4 separate regions of the Homo sapiens genome follow, and regions 1, 2 and 4 are each linked to region 3. Evidence: promoter capture Hi-C in 16 types of primary human blood cells and fetal thymus (Javierre and others, 2016). All regions are on one chromosome and are shown on one strand. Each heading gives the region's core, a stretch centred on a gene start or on the middle of the fragment in contact. The rest is flanking DNA. Distances are from core to core; before and after follow the strand shown. Region 1 overlaps TBC1D25 (TBC1 domain family member 25). Region 2 holds the start of EBP (EBP cholestenol delta-isomerase). Region 3 holds the start of TIMM17B (translocase of inner mitochondrial membrane 17B). Region 4 holds the start of RBM3 (RNA binding motif protein 3).

The links. Contacts are between HindIII fragments. The CHiCAGO score rates a contact against its expected background, and 5 or more counts as called.
Region 1: a contact is called between a fragment that was not itself captured here and the fragment with the promoter of TIMM17B in region 3, in 1 of 17 cell types (activated CD4 T cells). The highest score is 5.8, in activated CD4 T cells.
Region 2: a contact is called between the fragment with the promoter of EBP here and the fragment with the promoter of TIMM17B in region 3, in 1 of 17 cell types (neutrophils). The highest score is 7.4, in neutrophils.
Region 4: the fragment with the promoter of RBM3 here is called in contact with the fragment with the promoter of TIMM17B in region 3 in 5 of 17 cell types (neutrophils, total B cells, fetal thymus and 2 more); the score reaches 9.5 in neutrophils.

The regions. Positions count from the first base shown.
Region 1 is chrX:48,548,941-48,555,448 of GRCh38, reverse strand. All of the region lies in intron 3 of TBC1D25 (TBC1 domain family member 25), which reads right to left. Among named protein-coding and RNA genes, the nearest start is that of TBC1D25, 12 kb to the right of the region's middle. The HindIII fragment of the contact is 254 bases long and covers 4,824-5,077 here.
Region 2 is chrX:48,520,558-48,523,520 of GRCh38, reverse strand. It overlaps EBP (EBP cholestenol delta-isomerase), which reads right to left and starts at 1,713. Exons shown (of 5, transcript NM_006579.3): 1 at 1,614-1,713. PORCN (porcupine O-acyltransferase) reads right to left here. Exons shown (of 15, transcript NM_203475.3): 15 at 2,713-2,963. RefSeq lists silencers at 1,429-1,608, 1,669-1,898, 2,813-2,872. The HindIII fragment of the contact is 9,622 bases long and covers 899-2,963 here.
Region 3 is chrX:48,896,075-48,902,316 of GRCh38, reverse strand. It overlaps TIMM17B (translocase of inner mitochondrial membrane 17B), which reads left to right and starts at 4,549. Exons shown (of 6, transcript NM_001395498.1): 1 at 4,549-4,593; 2 at 5,459-5,558. The coding sequence starts at 4,568. It overlaps PQBP1 (polyglutamine binding protein 1), which reads right to left and starts at 4,387. Exons shown (of 7, transcript NM_001032382.2): 1 at 4,235-4,387; 2 at 3,741-3,825; 3 at 1,016-1,127; 4 at 275-387; 5 at 1-84. The coding sequence starts at 3,807. RefSeq lists enhancers at 3,724-3,943, 3,994-4,363, 4,654-4,853, 4,884-5,033. The HindIII fragment of the contact is 9,862 bases long and covers 1-6,242 here.
Region 4 is chrX:48,571,007-48,577,289 of GRCh38, reverse strand. It overlaps RBM3 (RNA binding motif protein 3), which reads right to left and starts at 2,806. Exons shown (of 7, transcript NM_006743.5): 1 at 2,717-2,806; 2 at 2,007-2,122; 3 at 1,623-1,729; 4 at 871-976; 5 at 686-782; 6 at 181-264. The coding sequence starts at 2,109. The coding sequence ends at 204. RefSeq lists enhancers at 2,479-2,748, 1,732-2,931 and a cis regulatory region at 2,688-3,673. The HindIII fragment of the contact is 13,325 bases long and covers 1-6,283 here.

The sequences.
Region 1 (6,508 bases), core at 3,701-6,200, 350 kb after region 3:
TTTTGTGTGAAACCAATCAACTTCTATCTGTTTAAGCCACTGTCATTTGCAAGCAAATGCCATCCCTAAACAGCATTCCCATGGAGCCCAATTTTCCCATAGAGCTGAGGGGGGGAACAAACCCTAGGCCATGTTTGCATGTCACTGCTTTTCCCTGGATGTCTCATGGGGTACTGCAAACCTAAGGGGTCCAAAGAGAGGAGCCCAAGATCCACTCTAGACATGGCCTCCTCCTCTACTCCTCATCTCAACAAACAGCATCTCTATCTGTTCAGTTGTTTAATAGACCAGAAACCTGAGAGACATCCTTGTCCCCCTCCCACTCTCTTAACTCCCAGGTCCAAACCACCGCCAAGTCCTACGGCTACTGCATGTAAAGCATTCCTCCATCCTACCTGTTCTCTCATCTCCATCTTCTCACCCTGTCTGAGCCACCATATCTCTCACCTGAAACTGCCTCCTAACCAGTCCTCACTTCCTCTGTATTCCTCTCCAATCTCTCCCAACAGCTGCCAGAATGGTCTTTCTAAAACATTAATCAGAGCATTAAAACACTTAACAGGTAAAATGAAGAAGGTCACATTATGAAAAATCAGTAATGGTCTGAAAGTCTGAACAGAAGAACCACTGCAAGGCATGGAGCTAAGGTTCAATGATTTGAGTGAAAAAGTAGAGAGACCTGGATGCCAAGTCCAGGAGACCAAATATGGAAATAATAGGAAATGCAGGGGGAGAAAAGGGATCAGGTGGAGATGTCAGAATTAAACAAGTATGAAAGAAAATTTCCCTGAGATGAAGGAATGGCTCACCAAGTCTTAGATAGGATTAATTAACTAACAACACACAACAGGCCCCCCACCAACCCTATCCTTTTTTTTTTTTTTTTTTTGAGATGGAGTCTTGCTCTGTCACCCAGACTGGAGCACAATGGTATGATCTCGGCTCACTGCAACCTCCGCCTCCTGGGTTCAAGCCATTCTCCTGCCTCAGCCTCCCAAGTAGCTGGGATTCCAGGGGCATACCACCACGCCCGGCTAATTTTTGCTAATTTTTGTATTTTTAGTAAAGACAGGGTTTTGCCACATTGGCCAGGCTGGTCTTGAACTCCTGAGTTCAAGTGATCCGCCTGCCTCAGCTTCCCAAAGTGCTGGGATTACAGGCGTGAGCCACTGCGCCCAGCCCGAAATGCCCAAATTCTAAGAATAAAGAAAAACTCTTAGACTGGGCGCAATGGCTCATGCCTGTAATCCCAGCAATTTTTTTTTTTTGAGGCAGAGTCTTGCTCTGTTGCCCAGGCTGGAGCGCAGTGGCGTGATCTTGGCTCACTGCAACCTCCGCCTCCCGGGTTCAAGCGATTCTCCTGTCTCAGCCTCCCAAGTAGCTAGGACTACAGGTGTGCGCCACAACACCTGGCAAATTTTTGTATTTTTAGTAGAGACGGGGTTTCACCATGTTGGCCAGGCTGGTCTCGAACTCCTGAGTTCAAGTGATCCGCCTACCTCGGTCTCCCAAAGTGCTGGGATTACAGGCATGAGCCACCATGCCCAGCCTAATCCCAGCACTTTGGGAGGCCAAGGCGGGCGGATTGCTTGAGCCCGAGAGTTCAAAACCAGCCTGGGCTGAACATGATAAAACCCTGTCTCTACCCAAAAATATAAAAATTAGCTGGGCATGGTGGCGCACACCTGTAGTCCCTGCCACTCGGGAGGCTGAGGTGGGTGGGAGGATCGCTTGAACCTGGGAAGCAGAGGTTGCAGTGAGCTGAGATCACGTCACTGCACTCCCGCCTGGGAAATAGAGATCCTGCCTCAAAAAAAAAAAAAAAAAAAAAAGAAAAAGAAAAACTCTTGCAGCTTCCAGAGACAAAAAACGGCTGCTTACAATGGAAAGAAGGTCAGACAAGCAACAGACTTCTGCTTCACAACCCTGGAGGCAATAAGACAGTAGCTCACAGCACCTATGGAGCACTAAGAAGAAAGACCTGAGATCCAAGGGCCCCACACCCAGCCAAGACAGTACAGATCTATTCAGCCAAATAAAAACATTTTTGGCCATTAGAGTACATCTAACCCATGCACTTTTGGAGGAGAACAAAGAAGTTCTCTGAGCAAATGACTCCTGCATGACTAGAAGGGCTTAAGATAGGGAGAGACAAAGGGGAAGGTAAATGGTAATATTTATATATTATATATTATATTATATATATTACATATTTAATATTTATAGTTAAAATGACAACGATAACATGATTGGGGGTTTGTAATATTATATGTTACATTAGGATTCCTGAAACATAAGTGACTTAGTGTGTTAGTAAGAAAACAGAATGATAACCCGGAATTTAAAAAGAAAAAAAATTGGCTGGGTGTGGTGGCTCATGCCTGTAATCCCAGCACTTTGGGAAGCCGAGGCAGGCAAATCACTTGAGGTCAGGAGTTCAAGACCAGCCTGGCCAACATGGTGAAACCCCATCTCTACCAAATATAAAAAAACTAGCCGGGTGTGGTGGTGCGCTTCTGTTACCCCAGCTACTCAAGAGGCTGAGGCAGGAGAATTGCTTGAACCTGGGAAGAGGAGGTTGCGGTAAGCTGAGATTGTGCCATAGCACTCCAGCCTGGGCAACAGAGCAAGACTCCATCTCAAAAAAAAAAAAAAGTTGTCTAAGCAAAAGCTAGAAGTTAAGGGTTAGGGACCAGAAAACGAATAAGAATTACAAGTGTTCCAAAGCTCCATTTTAAAGGCCAGAAAAAGTGGGAGAGATTAAAGGAGAAAAAGTGGCCTAAAGATTTCACTGTTGGGGCGGGGTGCAGTGACTCACGACTATAATCCCAGCACTTTGGGAGGCCGAGGCAGGCAGATCATGAGGTCAGGAGATCGAGACCATCCTGGCTAACACGGTGAAACCCCGTCTCTACTAAAAATACAAAAAATTAGCCAGGTGTGATGGTGAGCGCCTGTAATCCCAGCTACTCGGGAGGCTGAGGGAGAATTGCTTGAACCCAGGATGCAGAGGTTGCAGCGAGCCAAGATTGTGCCACTGCACTCCAGTCTGGGCGACAGAGCGAAACTCCATCTCAAAAAAAAAAAAAAAAAAATTAGCCGGGCATGATGGTGTGTGCCTGTAATCCCAGCTACTCGGGAGGCTGAGGGAGGAGAATTGCTTGAACCCAGGATGCAGAGGTTGCAGCGAGCTGAGATCGTGCCACTGCACTCCAGTCTGGGCGACAGAGCGAGACTACGTGTCAAAAAGAAAAAAAAAAGATTTCACTGTCAGTTGCCTTAAAAAGCATAAATTCTGCTATGACGTTTTTACGAGAGGTATGAGAGACATACCTAAAACTAGGTGACACAAAAAGGTTAAAAATTAAAGAATCCTAAAGGTATATCTGGTAAACACAAACAGAAAAAAATAGTAGCCATGAGAATGTCAGAAAAAGCATCACTCAAGGCCAAAAGCATTTAACACAAAGAGACATTTTATACTGATTAAAAAAACCACCCCCTCAATCCCACTAATAAAACAGGCAGAGGCCAGGCGCGGTGGCTCACGTCTGTAATCCCAGCACTTTGGGAGGCTGAGGTGGGCGGATCACAAGGTTGAGACCAGCCTGGCCAACATGGTGAAACCCCATCTCTACTAAAAAATACAAAAAAAAATTAGCCAGGTGTGGTGGCAGGTGCCTGTAATCCCAGCTGCTTGGGAGGCTGAGGTAAGGAGAATCGCTTGAACCTGGGAGGCAGGGGTTACAGTGAGCTGAGATCGCGCCACTGCACTCCAGCCTGGGCAACAATGTGAGACTCCCTCTCAAAAAAAGGAAAAAAAAGGCCGGGCGCAGTGGCTCACACCTGTAATCCCAGCACTTTGAGAAGCAAGGCGGGCGGATCACAAGGTCAAGAGATCGAGACCGTCCTGGCCAACATGGTGAAACCCCGTCTCTACTAAAAATACAAAAATTAGCTGGGCGTGGTGGCGCGTGCCTGTAATCTCAGCTACTCAAGAGGCTGAGGCAGGAGAATCGCTTGAACCTGGGAGGCAGAGGTTGCAGTGAGCCGGAATTGTGCCACTGCACTCCAGCCTGGCAACAGAGTGTCTCAAAAAAACAAACAAACAAACAAACAAAAAACAGGCAAAGAATGTCTACAAACACAAACTCACCTAGTAGCAAAACCTGATCTGAACTGACAGGAGACTATATATAGTCTTTATATAACCCACGTAGTGTGAATATGCACACATTTCCCTGAAGAAACATCCAAGTGTTTCATTGTGGGCTGCTTGGCTGCTGGCCCAGACCCTGCTTGTGGTATTACATAATATTCATGATACGCGCATTTCCTTATCATAAAATTGTCAAACTTCCCAAACCCTAAATTAATATATAAACTCAGTGCAATGCCAGTCAGAAATTGAATGGGGGTTTTTCCTGGAACCGGATAAAATTATCTTAAGGTTTCTATAGAAGAATTCACATTTAAGAATAGCTAAGACAGGCTGGGCGCGGTGGCTCATGCCTGTAATCTCAGCACTTTGGGAGGCCGAGGTGGGTGGATCACGAGGTCAGGAGATCGAGATCATCCTAGCTAACACGGTGAAACCCTGCCTCTACTAAAAATACAAAACATTAGCCGGGCGTGGTGGCGAGCGCCTGTGGTCCCAGCTACTTGGGAGACTGAGGCAGGAGAATGGCGTGAACCCAGGAGGTGGAGCTTGCAGTGAGCCAAGATTGTGCCACTGCACTCCAGCCTGGGCGACAGAGCAAGACTCCATCTCCAAAAAAAAAAAAAAAGTTAAGACAAAGAACAGTGGGAGGATGGCAAAAGCTTATCGCCTGTAGTCCCAGCTACTAGGGAGGCTGAGGCAGGAGAATGGCGTGAACCCGGGAGGCGGAGCTTGCAGTGAGTTGAGATTGCGCCACTGCACTCCAGCCTGGGCGACAGAGCGAGACTCCATCTCAAAAAAAAAAAAAAATTTGACCACAAAACCACTGTCATAAAAATAACATGGTGTTAGCACAGCAGTAGACAAATAGAGCCCATTGGTAGAATGCAATAGAAAGCCCAGAAATAAATCCAAGCTTGTATATATGGAAACTGAATATGTGACAAACGTGGCATTTCGAATCACTGCAGAAAAGGTGATTATTTAATAAATGATGCTGGCAGGCCGGGCGCAGTGGCTCATGCCTGTAATCTCAGCACTTTGGGAGGCTGAAGTGGGTGGATCACCTGAGGTCATAAGTTCGACACCAACCTGGCCAACATGGCAAAACCTCATCTCTACTAAAAATACAAAAATTAGCTAGGCATGGTGGCGGGCACCTGTAATCCCAGCTATTTGGGAGGCTGAGTCAGGAGAATTGCTTGAACCCAGGAGACGGCGGCTGCAGTGAGCTGAGATTGTGCAACTGCACTCCTGCCTGGGCGATAAGAGTAAAACTTCGTCTCAAAAAAAAAAATTAAATTAAAAAAAATGATGCTGGCATAATTGACTATCTTGATTTTTTTAAAGCTAGGTCTGCTTATCACAATGCTGACAGAGAAAAGATTTATATGTAAAAAAGAAAACAATAAGCATAGTAGAAGAAAATATAGAATATTTGTATAAGCTTATGGATGGGGAACATGTTCCAAAGTAATAGGAGAAACTCAGCCAGGCACAGTGGCTCATGCCTGTAATCCCACCACTTTGGGAGGCCCAGGCAGGTGGATCACTTGAGATCAGGAATTCGATACCAGCCTGACCAACATGGTGAAACTCCATCTCTACTAAAAATACAAAAGTAGCCAGGTGTAGTGGCACATGCCTGTAATCCCAGCTACTTGGGAGGCTGAGGCAGGAGAATCACTTGAACCCAGGAGGCGGAGGTTGCAGTGAGCCGAGATCGCGCCATCGCACTCCAGCCTGGGCAATGAGAGTGAAACTCTGTCCCTCCACCTGCAATAAAAAGGAGAAACTCAGAAATCATAAAGAAAAAGATAGATATCTGTGTAGGCGTGCAATCAAATGTTTAATTTTGATAGGACAAAACAGATCCATCCCGTAAGCAAAGCCAAAAAACAAAAGATCAACTGGGAAAAATATTTGCAGTACCTATGATAGAAAGGAGGTTGGGGGCTGGGCACGGTGGCTCCCGCCTGTAATCCAAACACTTTGAGAGGCCGAGGTGGGTGGATCACTTGAGGTCAGAAGTTCGAGACCAGCCTGGCCAACATGGCAAAACCATGTCTCTACAAAAAATACAAAAATTAGCTGGGCATGGTGGTGCACACCTGTAGTCCCAGCTACTTGAAAGCCTGAGGCAGGAGGAGAGCTTGAGGTCAAGGCTGCAGTGGGCCATATTTGCGTCACTGCATTCCAGCCTTGGTGACAAAGAGAGTCTCAAAAAGAAAAAAGATTCATATCGGAAAAGTACAAATTGGTCAAAGGTCTAGGCTTTGTAATCTCCCAACTGTAGAGGTGACAGAAACTGGCTTTTTCCCAGAAAGAGGGACTGGGCCATCCAAACAG
Region 2 (2,963 bases), core at 464-2,963, 380 kb after region 3:
GTGGAGTGGTGCGACCTCGGCTCACTGCAACCTCTGCCTTCCGGGTTCAAACGATTCTCCTGCCTCAGCCTCCCGAGTAGCTGGGACTACAGGTGCCTGCCACCACGCCCAGCTAATTTTTTGTATTTTTAGTAGAGACGGGGTTTCACCGTGTTAGCCAGGATGGTCTTGATCTCCTGACCTCACGATCCGCCCGCCTCAGCCTCCCAAAGTGCTGGGATTACAGGCGTGAGCCACTGCGCCCGGCCTACATTCTGTTTTAAGACCATGACTAAAGGCCAGGCACCGTGGCAGGTAATTCCAGTGCTTTGGGAGGCTGATGCAGGAGCAGCACCTGAGGCCAGGAATTCAAGTCCGGCCTGGGCAACACAGCGAAACTGTCTCTAAAAAAATAAGAAAATCAGTCAGGTGTGGTGACAAAGGCCTGTAGTCCCAGCTAGTAGGTAGGCTGAGGCAGGAGGATCGCTTTGAGCCCAGGACTTCAAGGCTGAAGTGAGCAGTGACCACATCACTGCCCTCCAGTCTGAGACTCTGCCTCTAAAAAAGAAGGCCGGGCGCGGTGGCTCACGCCTGTAATCCCAGCACTTTGGGAGGCCAAGACGAGTGGACCACTTGAGCTCAGGAGTTCAAGACCAGCCCGGCCAACATGGCAAAACCCCGTCTCTACTAAAAATACAAAAATTAGCCAGGTGTGGTGGCGTGCGCCTGTAGTTACAGCTACTCAGGAGGCTGAGGCAGGAGAATCGCTTGAACCTGGGAGGCAGAGGCTGCAGTGAGCCGGGGTCATGCCACTGCACTCCAGCCTGGGCAACAGAGCGAGACTCTGTCTCAAAATAAAATAAAAAAGAAAAGAAAAAGAACATGACTGAAACACAAGGCCACAGAAAGGCTGAAAGCTTGTTCCAGCCCTTTAGAAGCCATATTATGATGTGGTAGAAACAGTCCCGGTCTCAGCCCTCGGGGGTCAAAGTCTGGTGGGAGGCACATGGGAACAACACCTGATCCCAGCCCTCCCTGGTCACAGTCTGGCGAGGGAGATACAGGACCAGGCCTGGTGTCTTCCTTCAAGGGTCACAAACTGCTCACGACCACCAAACCCAGTCCTGTGCTCCGGGGTCACGGTTTGGTAAGAGACACAGGAACCAGGCGTGGTCCAGTTGCACAGGTCAGCGTCTTAAACCGTTCAACAAAAAGCTATTCCCTCCCCCACGTAGTCCTGAAAACTGCAACTGGGGGACAGAGGAAAGAAAACGAATCAGAACTACAACCCTCGGTGCCAGCGTTTGGAAAGCCAGAGCCTCCCCGCGAGAGCGTGCAACGCCGTCAACCTGCAGGGAAGAGACGGATATTGAAAGGCCGGTGTCTGGCGTGCAGCGCTAGAACGGAACACAAAGCCGGTCAATCCGAACCAGAACCCTCCAGTCCCGCTGCCCAATGAGAAGACGGATCTTCTGTCCTCTGGACAACCGTGCGGTAGCTGGGGGTCTCGCGCAGGCGCAAAAGGGCGGTGGGGGGGGCGGGTGGCAAAGGGTCTCGCGCTGGCACGCCGAGGGCTGGCCGCGTAGCCGGGGAGAGCTGGGGGAGGGAGCAGGGGCCGGGTGGAGGGCACTCACCAAGGCGCGCGACGGCAGCGGCCTCCCACGCTGGCTCCGGGCTCTCTTTAGGCTGGGTCTCGCGCTCTGTCACATCCCTAGTTCGGGCTCATCCCCTAGTGGGTTCTCTTGCCTTACGGAGCGAGCCAATGGTGAAGCGAAGAAGGCGGCCCGTGCCGCTCCCAACCAATAGACACTCTCTTTGTACCTCTAGCCCCGCCCCCGCGCGTGGCGCCATTTTCACCTGAGTTAGGTTTGGGGTGGAGACTGGGACGCGCCAAGGTTAGTGGGCGTTTTGGATCCGTAGCCAATCTGCATCGAGTCCTGGCTTCAATTTCCCCATTCCCTTATCAGTCGATCAAAACGGGGACTCATTAAGGTCTGTACCCGCTTCTTCCGCTGGTGAAATTAGCGTTGCGTTGCATCCTTTCACCTCCGCCCTTTTCTAGGTAGAGTAACCCTTAGTATAATGCAACGAAACTGTTACAAGCAGATCACACGCTATACACTGCAACCACCCCCTCCCCAGCTCTTCAGTGCTCAGAACTCCTCAGTCCTAATAGCAGCGGTCATTCTCTCTTCTCCCGACCTCAAGTCAGAAGAACTAGTTAGAACCCAGGCCTCTCAGTCCTACTGACCAATTGGCATGAAGACCCTCAATCTCCATATGCCAGTTCTAAAAAGCCAATCAAACGCCTAACCACCAGTGGGCCCCCAGATGGAGCAATCAATCAGAATCCAGACCCATCCCAGACCTCCCATCCAATTAGAACCCACAACCCTCAGTCCTAAGGATAAATAGGCACCAACCCTTCATCTCTCTTGCTTTCTCTCCTCTGTGTCCCACTCAGAGCAACCAATCAGAATGGGGATCCTTCAGTTTTCCAGCCAATCAGGCCTCCCCCACATCCAACTATGCAATCTGTCCCTGCCCTGATCAAACCAAGCAGGACCAGGATCCTGCCATCTTCAGGCTCATCATCTAATCAATCATAAACTAACCATGAACCAATCACAGTCTGCTCTCTCTTCATGGTTTCCAGCTTCCAAACCTTTATCCATGCTGTGCTCCCTTCCTCACTCATTCCTATTCCCCTCTGAGCAGTGAAGAAGAAGCCTATTGAATATTTCCTACTTTTATTTGACAATAACAAATTGTATATAAAAAGGAAGAAGGAAGGCGGGGAGGCCCTGGATCTCCCCTTCTCTGTTTCCCCAAGCATCCCCCTCTAGGCCCCAGCAGGCACCACCCCCTTCCTGCCTTGTGGTGGGGTGGGGATTGACAGGCATGAAAATGGTGTGATTTTGTGTGTGTGTGTGTGTGTGTGTGTTGAGGTGTTGGGGGTCAAGGATGGAGGGGGTCAAGGAGTA
Region 3 (6,242 bases), core at 3,300-5,799:
TGTCTAGTTTCTCATGGCTGCGGTCCGACTTGTCATGGCCCCTGTCCGACTTGTCATGGCTCCGGTCCAACTTTTCTTCAGCATCTGGGGACACAAGTCTTGAAGTGACCTCTTGCCACCCCAGGACCCAGCAGCCTCTGCCTTCAACAACCTCCCTTGCCTGAGGCTGGGCCCGCCTGGTCTCACCTGCCCCTCTGATCCACTATCATTCTACTTGGCCTCTCCGTGAGAACTGCTAAGATCACTCAAGGCACGCTTGTACCTGCCAACTCACCTGCATTACTGCTTCTGAGCTTCTTGGCCGATTTGGTAACCACGGAGTTGGGGTCATGTGGGGAGAGCCAGGATACAAGGTCTGTGTCTGCATTCCAGTAGTAAGGGAGCCCGCTGTGGGGCCGCAGGAAAGAAGTGTCAGCACAGATGTCCTTGCCTTGGATCCTCAACTCTTGTCTCCCCAGTCTCTGCCTATACCTGCCCCATGTCAGGACCCCACAGGCAGGATCCCCAGAATCTCTTCTCCTGAAGAGAAAACACTGTCAGCTGGGCGTGGTGGCTCATGCCTGTAATCCCAGCACTTTGGGAGGCCGAGGCAGGCGGATCACCTGAGGTCAGGAGTTCGGGACCAGCCTGACCAATATGATGAAACCCCATCTCTACAAAAAATACAAAAATTAGCTGGGTGTGGTGGTGTGCACCTGTAATCCCAGCTACCTGGGAGGCTGAGACAGGAGAATCGCTTGAACCCACGAGGCGGAGGTTGCCATAAGCCGAGATCACACCATTGCACTCCAGCCCGGGCTACAAGAGTGAAACTCCGTTTCAAAAAAGAGAGAAAAGACAGTCTTCCAACCCCAGAGGAGCCAGGCCCCAGCAGGCAGCAACTTGAGTCCTGCAGATACCTAATGCCAACACCCTCCACCCGAGGCTCCCTCCCTTGTGTCCCCCTAAACCTCACAACCAAGGTCAGCACAGGAAGGGTGAAGCCAGAAGTTAGCTCCCCCTCACCCAGGCTCACCAGGAAGGGTCGAACACCTTGTACCAGCTTGGTGGTAGGCCCTCCAACCTGGTGGCCTCGTAGTCCACAGGATCATCGTCATAGTCCTCGGCAATGATCTCTTCCTCTGGTTCTGGTAGAACAAGGTGGGGATGAGGAGAGCAGATAAGGACCAGGGGACCTCATCCTACATGTAGAGCCTAGAGACACGCACTCACATTCACACAAGCCACACATAAAAGACACGTGTGTGTGTGTGCCGGGAAGAATATGAAGTATCTTTCACATTCCAAATCCAACTCTCTATATTAGGAGGTTTACAAAAAAAGGTTACCTAAATCTGTGTCTGGGTTCAGATGATGAGTTCTACTGTTAGCCAAAGCTATCTGGTTTCAGAGTTGATAGGGATTCATCAAAAAATTTACTCATCTTGGCCAGGCGTGATGGCTCATGCCTGTAATCCCAGCACTTTAGGAGGCCAAAGTGGGTGGATCACGAGGTCAGGAGTTCAAGACCAGCCTGGCCAAGATGGTGAAAACCCGTCTGTGAGACTAGCCTGGTCAACATAGTGAGACCCCTGTCTCTACAAAAAAAAAAAATTAGCTGGGCACAGTGGCACACGTCTGTAGTCCCAACTACTCAGGAGGCTGAGGCAGGAGGCTCATTTGAGCCCAGGACTTTGAGCTTGCAGTGAGCTATTATCGTGCCACTGCACTCCAGCCTGGGCAACAGAGTGAGACCCTGTCTCTAAACAAATAATAAATAATATATATACCATAGGCACAGGTCATTCAATAGGCTTAAAAGAAAATCCAGCCTGGCCAACATGGTGAAACCCCATCTCTACTAAAAAATACAAAAATTAGCCAGGCACAGTGGAGCACGCCTGTGGTCCTAGCTACTCGGGAGGCTGAGGCAGGAGAATCGCTTGAACCCGGGAGGCAGAGGTTGCAGTGGGCCAAGACTGCACCACTGCACTCCAGCCTAGGTGACAGAGCGAGACTCTCTCAAAAAAAAAAAAAAAAAAAAAAAAAAAAAGTAAATCAATGATCATTGCCAGTTTTATTTTTTTGAGATGGAGTCTTTCTCTGTTGCCCAGGCTGGAGTGCAGTGGCATGATCTCGGCTCACTGCAAGCTCCGCCTTCCGGGTTCACACCATTCTCCTGCCTCAGCCTCCCGAGTAGCTGGGACTACAGGCATCTGGCACCACGCCCGGCTAAGTTTTTTGTATTTTTATTAGAGATGGGGTTTCACCCTGTTAGCCAGAATGGTCTCGATCTCCTGACCTCGTGATCCGTCCACCTCCGCCTCCCAAAGCGCTGAGATTACAGGCATGAGGCACCCTGCCCGGCCTGGGATCATTGACAATTTTATTAACCACAAGGTCTATACCTTGCACACAGTAGGCTTGTAATAGATGTCAGTTATCAATAAGGAGAAGATATATTTTCCAGTGCCTGGCACACTATAGCCCCAAATAGATGCCAGTTTTTAGTATTACTGATAATAAGGTGTGATTTGCAGCCAGAGCACAGTAGGCCTAAATGATAGATCCTCACTGCAACTACGCTTGGCACACAGGAGACAGCAGTAGAGGTTAGCAGTACTTCCTATTAGATACTATGTCATCACCCCCATAGAGTAATCCATGGGATTTAACTTGGCATACAGTAGGCCCCAAATAGGCATTAGGTGGTCAGTATTATTTTGTTGTTTTTTTTGGATTTTTTTCAGACAGGGTCTCCATGTGTCGGCCAGGCTGGAGTGCAGTGGCACAATCTCGGCTCACTGCACCCTTGACATCCTAGGCTCAAGAGATCCTCTCACCTCAGCCTCCCAAGTAGCTGGGACTACAGGCATGCACCACAACACACGATTAATTTTTGTATTTTTTGTAAAGACGGGGTTTTGCCATGTTGCTCAGGCTAATCTCTTAATCCCTAAACTCAAGCAATCTACCCGCCTCAGCCTCCTAAAGTGCTGGGAATGCCAGCTTGAGCCGCCACGCCCAGCCAGTCAGTATTGTTAAGAATGAAATATCTGCCGGGCACAGTGGCTTATGCCTGTAATCCCAACCCTTTGGAAAGCCAAGGGTGGGGGGTGGATCACCTGAGGTCAGGAGTTAGAGGCCAGCCTAGCCAACATGGTGAAACCCGTCTCTACTAAAAATGCAAAAATCAGCCGGGTGTGGTATCACGTGCCTGTAATCCCAGCTACTTGGGAGGCTGAGACAGGAAAATCGCTTGAGCCCGGGAGGCGGAGGTTGCAGTGAGACGAGATCACGCCACAGCACTCCAGCCTGGGCGACAGACCGAGACTCTGTCTCAAAAAAAAAAAAAAAAAAATTGCCAGGTGTGGTGGGGCGGGGCGTGCCTGTAGTCCCAACTACTCGGGAAGTTAAGGCAGGAGAATCGCTTGAACCTGGAAGGCGGAGGTTTTAGTGAGCCGAGATCGCGCCACTGCACTCCAGCCTGGGTGCACAATAAGACTCTGCCTCAAAAAAAAAAAAAAAAAAAAAAAAAAAAAAAAAAAAAAAGAATGAAATATCTATTCCCCCAACCCCCTCCACTTGACACGCGGTAGGGATGGATGTCAGGAATCCACATTGTTAACAACGAAAAATGCCTGCCACCCCATTGCTTGGTGCACAGTTGGCCCATGCTAGGTATCAAGCGTCAGTATCAACAACAAAAGTGCCTGTCGAGGCTGGCACGTGTTAGGACCATCTGCTTTTAGCTGTCTCACCAGGCTCCAGATGTTTGAGGATGCCTCTCTTGGCCAAGCGGGTCTGCAGCGCAACGGGCAGCGGCATAGCTGATAGCAGACAGACCTAGGGACAGACGAACAAACTGACAAGCAGCTCAGATAAAGATTCCTATCTGGATCCCGTAACCAAGCGCCTCCCGTAAACATGTACTCATCTGACTCCGATCTACTCAAATGAACCAGTAGCTGGGTGGACAGAACATACGCACTAAAAGATGTAAGAGGTAGGTGGCAATATCATCGCAACTCCCACCAACCCTACTGTCCCCGAAACCAGGTGCTCCAGGGCCCTGTTCCTCTCCCAGGCCCAGGCTCCGCCCACAGCCTAAGAAGCCCGGCCCCTCCGCACTTCAGAAATGGGCTCATCCAGCGTCCCCATGACTGCCGGGTGGGAGAAACCAAAGCGCTGGGATGGGGGAGCAGAGGGCAGCACTTCCTCCAGCTCCAAAAGAGTGCACCCACCCCAACGTTACCAATACACTCGTGCAGGTAGTGGAAGGCTGTCACACCGCCCGTCTCTCTCGTGTCGCCGCTACGATACCTGGGCCCACACGACTCTCTTCCCAAAACACCGAATGAGACCTTCTCTCAACGAGGCCTTCACTCCCCGAGCCTGAAAGTAACTGGACTACGCTCAGGAGGCAATGAACAAATGGCAGAAACTCGATTGGCCAATGAGAGTGCGTCCTTGGCGTGACATGCGGTATAGCGACCCAATCGCTGCCCGGTAATAGGCGGAAAGCTCCGACGCCGGTGTGCGTCTACGCTGGGGGCGTGGCCTGACTGCGCGGCCAGACGCCAGCGCCATGGAGGAGTACGCTCGGGAGCCCTGGTACGGCAATGGGCACAGGCATCCGGAATATTGCTGCGACGCCAAGGCCAGCCGTGGGGGTCGGGCGGGGGAGGCATCGGCCGCACAGAGCCATGTACCAGACTCGGGGGACTCTTAACGTATCTCCCGCTACCCCCACTCGGTTCCTGTCATTCGGGCTCCGTTATGAGGGGCCACAACCAGAGAAGGTGCGGCGAAGGCCGAACCACGCCATGTTTCTCCTGACTTCGTAATCTCCTAGCCCTGTTAACGAAAAAAGACACGCTGGACGATCCATCCCGGCTAGGGGTGGTACGGTGTTGACCGGAAATCCCCAGAGTTGCCGCCAGTGGTTTTTCCCAGGTCGCCTTTGTCAGTGGGGGGCGGGGCACGGATGAACCTGTTGAGGGCCGGCGGGGACGGTGGATGCTTCCCGCGGTCGCTCTTGGTTTTTCCCAGTTGTGCCGGATTGAAAAGGGGCGGGGCATGGTTGGACGGGCTCACCGTCGGAGAAGGGGTGCGACGCGGTCCTGCTTTGCTGACAGTCTGTCTTGGCTAGTTAACACGCCTATGTCGCTTATTGAAACGTCAACTCTGCGTGTGCCAATTCATTTAATCTTTGATCACAGTAAAACCGTTGGCTGATTCCTTGGTTGGTAGACAGGGCGAAGACTAATATTTCTCCCCCTTTGCCCCATTTCTCGCTTTAATGGGGGGGTGTGTGGAAAAAGCGTGACAGAACTAGCTCATTATTATCTGAAGTGTTTGTTCCTACTTAGGAACTTCCCATTCTGGTGACTTGGTTTCTCCCAGTTAGAAAAGAGTTCGTGTGACAGGACCTGGGGGAGGGCTCACATTAACCCCGTCCTTCCCTTCCTGCTTGCAGCCCATGGCGAATTGTGGATGATTGCGGTGGAGCCTTCACTATGGGTGTCATCGGTGGCGGAGTCTTCCAGGCCATCAAGGGTTTCCGCAATGCCCCTGTTGTGAGTCCAGGCCTTCCCTGGGTTGGTGTGGGGTTAGCTATCTTGCCCACAAGGGAGGCTGCTCTGAAAACTGCTTGGAGCTGCCAGTCACGTGCACTTATTCATTCTGGTGCCCACTCACCTACTATGTGCCGAGCCTGGCTCCTGTATCTGGGATTTTGTAGGGATTGCAAACATGGCCTCTGTCTTCCACCCTCCACCCCACCCAACTGGAGCTCCTCTGTGGAAATGCTGTGTCGTTCAAAGAGTCATCACCAAATTTTAAATGTATGTGCAAAGCCAGACAGTTTTTTTTTTTTTTGAGACAGTCTTGCTCTGTTGCCCAGGCTAGAGTGCAGTGGCACGCTCTTGGCTCACTGCAACCTCTGCCTCCTGGGTTCAGGCAATTCTCCTGTCTCAGCCTCCCAAGTAGCTGGGACTACAGGCATGTGCCACCAGACCTGACGAATTTTTGTAATTTTAGTAGAAATGGGGTTTCACTATGTTGGCCAGGCTGGCCTTGAACTCTGGACCTCAGGTGATCCACCTACCTCGGCCTCCCAAAGTGCTGGGATTACAGGCGTGTGCCACTGTGCCTGGCCATGTTTTTTTTTTTTTTTTTTTTTTTGAGACAGCATCTTGCCCTGTTGCCCAGGCTGGCGTGCAGTGGCCTGATCATGGGTCACTACAGCCTCCGCCTCCCAG
Region 4 (6,283 bases), core at 1,557-4,056, 320 kb after region 3:
TAGCAAACTTGCTCTGATATGCACCTGAGAGCAAGGAAGGCCTAGCTAGGAATGTTTGGTAGGTTGGCTGGGTGAGGTATGAGGGCAGCAGAAATGCAGAGCAGTCTTGCCAGAAAAGGTGAGAGGGTCATGACAGAGTGTGACAAACAGGTTCACTCAATGCCGATATCCAAGTCTCACCTATATTATGTGCATGTCTCATTTCAGTTGTCATAATTGTCTCTGTAATTTCCTCCTGAGTAGCGGTCATAACCACCCTGGTTTCTGGGGGGGAAAAAAAACACACAAAAGTTTTCTGGTACTGCATTATATATACCACTGTAATTATATGCGTCACATTTTACAGTATGGGTCATAACATAAACCTTACGTATCAAAAACAGGATATGTTAAGCATATGAGTATCACAGTAAACAGTTTTATGGCATACGATTTATACGCAGTATATTAAATCATATTACATGTTAAAGCAATATAGTTATATAACCCACACAGCACAACATATATAGTATACTTTACCATGTCGCAACTATATGACTACACAATTAACTTAAAATGCTAAATTTCATACTCATTTTAGGTACACATTAGTAACAGCAAGGTGTGGTATGCATGAACACCCAGGCGCTGAGTTCTTAAGGAGAGGGAAGCAATAGGAGAACATCCCAGCCCTTTGGCTACCCACCTGCCATTATAGTCTCTGGAACGTCCATATCCATATCCATACCCTCCAGGTCGACTGTCATAATACCTGCCACTCCCATAGCCCTGGTCCCCACCACCTAGAGCAGAAAAATATTTAAATGGCAGTTGTCCACACATAGGCAACTCTCCCTCTCACCCCATGATCAAAACGATCACTGCACTCACCTCTAGAGTAGCTGCGACCACGCCCATGGGCCCCAAAGCCACCTCCTCTGGTTCCCCGAGCAGACTTGCCTGCATGATCCACACGGATCTGACGACCATCCAGAGACTAAGTGTGGGAGACACAAGGATGATGGGTTGGCAGTCAGTCAGGGCAATGGTGAGGGAAGAGCAGGCAAGGGTAAGTGGGCAAAAGAGGCCAAAAATTCCTGCTGGGCACCAGGTTCTGGGTGCCATGTTCCAGAATAAGCTCCTTTACCCCAGAATGGCTTCATCAGGAGCTATAGAATCCCACACAAAATGACCTGAATGCACCATGTTCCCCTTGCTACTACTTACATCTTGACTGAACTCAGGCTGAGTTCTCCTCCCCACTCCTCTAAGCTGCCCGACTATCAGGGCTAGACAGACACCTCTCTTGGTTTGAGGCTTCAGAGTCCATGTCAGAAGACTCACGAGGTCCTCTCCGGGCCAGGCCCACAGGTCTGCAGACTCTACTACCTAAGCCCAAGGCAGGTCAACCATCCACAGGTGGCTTCTCGGCCTCATGCAGGACCAGTCGTCGCCTCCCAGGCGGCCAGGCTCTGTCTGCCGCTGCCCTCCACCCCCTAGAACAAAAGGCAGTCATGCTCCTGTGAGTGGGCACTGCGGGGCTTGGTGGCCACGCTGCCCCGAGCAGACACAGAGGGAAAAACAAAAAGAATGAAGGAAGCCGCAGATGGGGACAAGGTCCCTCTGCAGATAGGAGGCCCCACCTCTCCGTTCATGGCTCTCATGGCAACTGAAGCATGCTCTGGGTTGGTGAAGGTGATGAAACCAAAACCCCTGGACCGCTGAGTCTCCCGGTCCTTGACAACGACCACTGTGAGAGGGAGAGAAGATGGAGCAATGTGGACCAGTCAGTACCCCAAAGGTTAAGTAGCAAAGGGTGGCCGGAAAAGGAGATGGCATAGGTAGGGAAAACGGAGCGCTCCCACTAATCCCAAAGACGCTTCCCCTCATCCTTAGTCTACACCATAGGCTTAGGAAGAAAAAGAATTTGGAGGCGTGGGTCCTAACTTTTCAGTTAATACTCCTTGAAATGCAAGGATCCCAGACTTTCTCTCACCAACCCCCATTGTGAGTATGGCCCGTCTCACCCTCAGAGATAGGTCCGAAACTGCTGAAGTGGTCTTCCAGTGCCTGCTCGTCGGTGTTAAAGTTGAGCCCTCCCACGAAGAGCTTTCCTTCTTCAGAGGACATGGCAGTTCAAGTCCTGTGGGAAGAACATGAAGAATGGTGGCAGGAAGGAGAAAGAAAATGGAGATGTGAGAAAATAGCGAGACGGAAAGCAGAGAAAAAGCACAGAAAATAGACAAGAAAGAGGAACAAAATATGGGTAACTACAGAAAAGCTGAGAAAGGCGGCCAATAAGGTGGTAATCTGAGGAGCTGGCTCAGCGCAGCCACCATTAGGGGGCCACATTGCGCATGCTCTCACATTCATAGCCGCCACGCCCGTCATTTTGTGCCACTGCGCAAGCCCAGAACATCCCTGCGTTCCCTTAACGCCGGCAGAACAAGATGGCGGCGGCCACGTGGGATAAGGAAAGTAAGTGTCGGCTGTCGCGTGGTCACTGCCACCACCGACGCCACCAGTCCCTCCCGGTAGGCCTCACACTCAGATACAGCGCGCCGGCCTCCCACCAACCGAAATGTTTCACCTCCAAGCACGGGACCCGCCCGTCCCAGAGAAAGCCAAGCCTACGTGTCAGTGGCCATTACTCTCCCCACTCGCTATTCCCCGGTCACGGCCGGCGCGGCGCGTGTGTGGCGAGGAGCCGCCGTTTCGCAGGACATATGCAACTTACCTGGAAATTAAAACGTAAAAAACCCGGACGAACAGCGAGCTCGGAGGAGCACAAAAAACAGGGACGGGGCTGCGCCGGAAGACGATTGATAAAGAGTACGTAGCGAGAACGTCCCGGAACGTTCCCCTTGCGCGTCCCGGCGTGCGTGCTGATTGGCTGAGGCCAGCAGGAGCGGAGTGGTGGGGAGAGGAAGGGACAGCAAAGCGAAGGGAGCAGTGTTCTCCGCGAAATGGGGTGTTTCCGGAAATGGGGTGTTTCCGGAAATGGGGTCGACTTTTGAACAGCTGGTGCACCCTAAACGTCAGCATCCCCCCCACAACCGGCTGAGCTGCCTTTATCCCTTCCACAAAGGAACCTTCTCAATCTCATACTACTTGCTGTCCCTGACATCATCCTCCCGTCCTTGCCATCATTTCCCCCGCTGGATCGGATGTCTTCCTCACCATCGTAGTCGTCTTCCTCTAGGTCCCTGCCATTCTCTGATGTTAACCTCCTTCACCTTCTAGTTCTTTAACCTCATACCCTTTAAAGGCCTGACATTTTATCCCCCACCGTCACTGATGTCATCACCCTTCACAGTCCATGATGTCAGACCCAACGTTTTAAGGTTTGACCCTGACTCCTACTCTTTCTCCTCTGTGCTCAACATCTAGCCGCCTGTCATGGGACCCTTTTCCCTGGCGTCATTCCATCTCATCTCTGACTTCAGCCCTCACCCTTGTCTGACTGCTGGCGTGAAGCCAGCCCCTTAATTTTCTCACCAATAGACTGCCTGAGATGGCTTTTACAAAACAGGATGCTGGCCGGGCGCGGTGGCTCACGCCTGTATTCCCAGCACTTTGGGAGGCCAAAGCGGGCGGTTCACGAGTTCAGGAGTTCGAGACCTGCATGGCCAACATGGTGAAACCCCATCTCTACTAAAAATACAAAAAAAAAAAAAAAAAAAAAAAAAGAAAAAAAAAATTAGCTGGGTGTGGTGGCACGTGCCTGTAGTCCCACCTACTCGGGAGGCTGAGGCTGGAAAATCGCTTGAACCCGGGAGGCGGAGGTTGCAGTGAGCCGAGACCACGCCATTGCACTCCAGCCTGGGTGAAAACAAAACAAAACAAAAGAGGATGCTACGATCTTCAGAGGTTGTAAATCCCAATCCATAGAGCAATTTTTGCTCTCTTCGAAAGTAACTGAGCCCTTGCCGGGCGCAGTGGCTCATGCCTGTAATCCCAGCACTTTGGGAGGCCGAAGTGGGCAGATCACAAGGTCAGGAGTTCAAGACTACCCTGGCCAATATGGTGAAACCCTGTCTCTACTAACAATACAAAAAAAAAAAAAAATTAGCCGGGCGTGGTGGTAGGCACCTGTAGTCCCAGCTACTCAGGAGGCTGAGGCGGGATAATCGCTTGAACCCGGGAGGTGGAGGTTGCAGTGAGCTGAGATCATGCCACTGCACTCCAGCTTGGGCGACAGAGCAAGACTCAGTCTCAAAAAAAAAAAAAAAGTAACTGAGCCCTTGATTCACAGAAGGGACTTTCGCAATACACAATAGACTTATCCCAATCAAGTAGTGTCTGAGCCCACTGTTCACAATTTAGTCTTCAGTGTCTTGGCCACCTTTACAATAAATGGATTTGACAGATTTTTCACTTCTGAGCGCCACATCAACGAAGAATAAGTTAGTTTGCCCTCAGAGGCTAAATTTCTTATCCATAGAATGAATTTGCCCAACACAGACCAAATTTGCTAACATACAGAATACAGTACATCCATATTCCTGTTGGGGTAATTCCCATATTTATCTTCCTGTTATTGTCAGGGATTCCTCACATAGTCTAATTATTAATCCCTTAGGTGTTGGAAATAGCCTCTCCAGCTCTGGCATTTGTGTTATTAACTTTGTAAGCAGTAAACTTAGTTGAATAAAGATCCATAATTTTGATATAATCATTTTTCCCCCTATGTTCTGTGCTTTTTTCTGAGACGGAGTCTCACTCTGTCGCTCAGGCTGGAGTGCAGTGGCATGATCTCAGCTCACTGCAACCTCCGCCTCCCAGGTTCAAGTGATTCTCCTGCTTTAGTCTCCTGAGTAGCTGGGATTACGGGCATGTGCCACTATGCCCAGCTAATTTTTGTATTTTTAGTAGAGATGAGGTTTCACCATGTTGTTCAGGCTGTTCTCAAACTCCTGACTTCATGATCCGCCTGCCTCGGCCTCCCAAAGTGCTGGGATTACAGGCGTGAGCCACCACGCCCGGCCTGGTCTGTGCTTTTAAAGAAATCATTCTCTTTCCCAGGTCACAAAATGTTCCCCTACAGTTTCTTTCTTTCTTTCTTTTTTTTTTTTTTTGACAGAGTTTCGCTCTTGTTGCCCAGGCTGGAGTGCAATGGCACTATCTCGGCTCACTGCAACCTCCGCCTCCTGGGTTCAAGCAATTCTCCTGCCTCAGCCTGCTGCGTAGCTAGGATTACAGGTGTGTGCCACCACACCTGGCTAATTTTTGCATTTTTAGTAGAGACAGGTTTTTGCCATGTTGGCCAGGCTGGTCTTGAACTCCTGGCCTCAAGTGATTCGCCTGCCTCGGCCTCCCAAAGTGCTGGGATTACAGGCATGAGCCACCGCACCCGGCCACATTTAGGTCTTTAATCCATGTAGAGTTCGTCCTTGTATATGGTGTGAGATAGAGCTCCAATTTTATTTTTCTCTGTGTCATGAGCCAGATGCCCCATCACCATCTATTAAGCAATCTGTCCCATCCCTGTGTGTGTTTTACCACCTCTATCATGTATCAAGTTCCATAGATATATGGGTCTGTCTCTGAGGTGGTTTGTTGCTGGTTTTGTTGTTATTGTTGTTTTTAAGAGATGAGCCCAGGCTGACTCCTGGCCTCAAGCATTCTCCCCAACTCAGCCTCCTGAGTAACTGGGATTACAGGGGAGCACTATTGTACCTGACTTCTGAGCTTTTTTTTTTTTTTTGACAGAGTCTCACTCTGTCGCCAGGCTGGAGTGCAGTGGCGCGATCTTGGCTCACTGCAACCTCCGCCTCCTGGGTTCAAGTGATTTTCCTGCCTCAGCCTCCTGAGTAGCTGGGACTACAGGCGCGTGCAACCACGCCCAGCTAATTTTTGTATTTTTAGTAGAGATGGGGTTTCACCATGTTGGCCAGGATGGTCTTTTTTTTTGAGACGGAGTCTCGCTCTGTCGCTCAGGCTGGAGTGCAGTGGCGCGATCTCGGCTCACTGTAAGCTCTGCCTTCCAGGTTCACGCCTCAGCCTCCCGAGTAGCTGGGACTACAGGCGCCTGCTACCGCACCCAGCCAATTTTTTTTTTTTGTATTTTTTAGTAGAGGCGGGGTTTCACCGTGGTCTGGATCTCCTGACCTTGTGATCTGCCCACCTCGGCCTCCAAAAGTGCTGGTATTACAGGTGTGAGCCACCGTGCCCGGCCTTCTCTTCTAATTGGTCTACTTCTTAGCTCTTGGGCCAATATAGGTTTGTTGTTGTTTTTTTTTTCCCTTTTATTACTAACACCTTTAATATGTCTTAATATCTAGTGGGCAAATCCCCATCATAA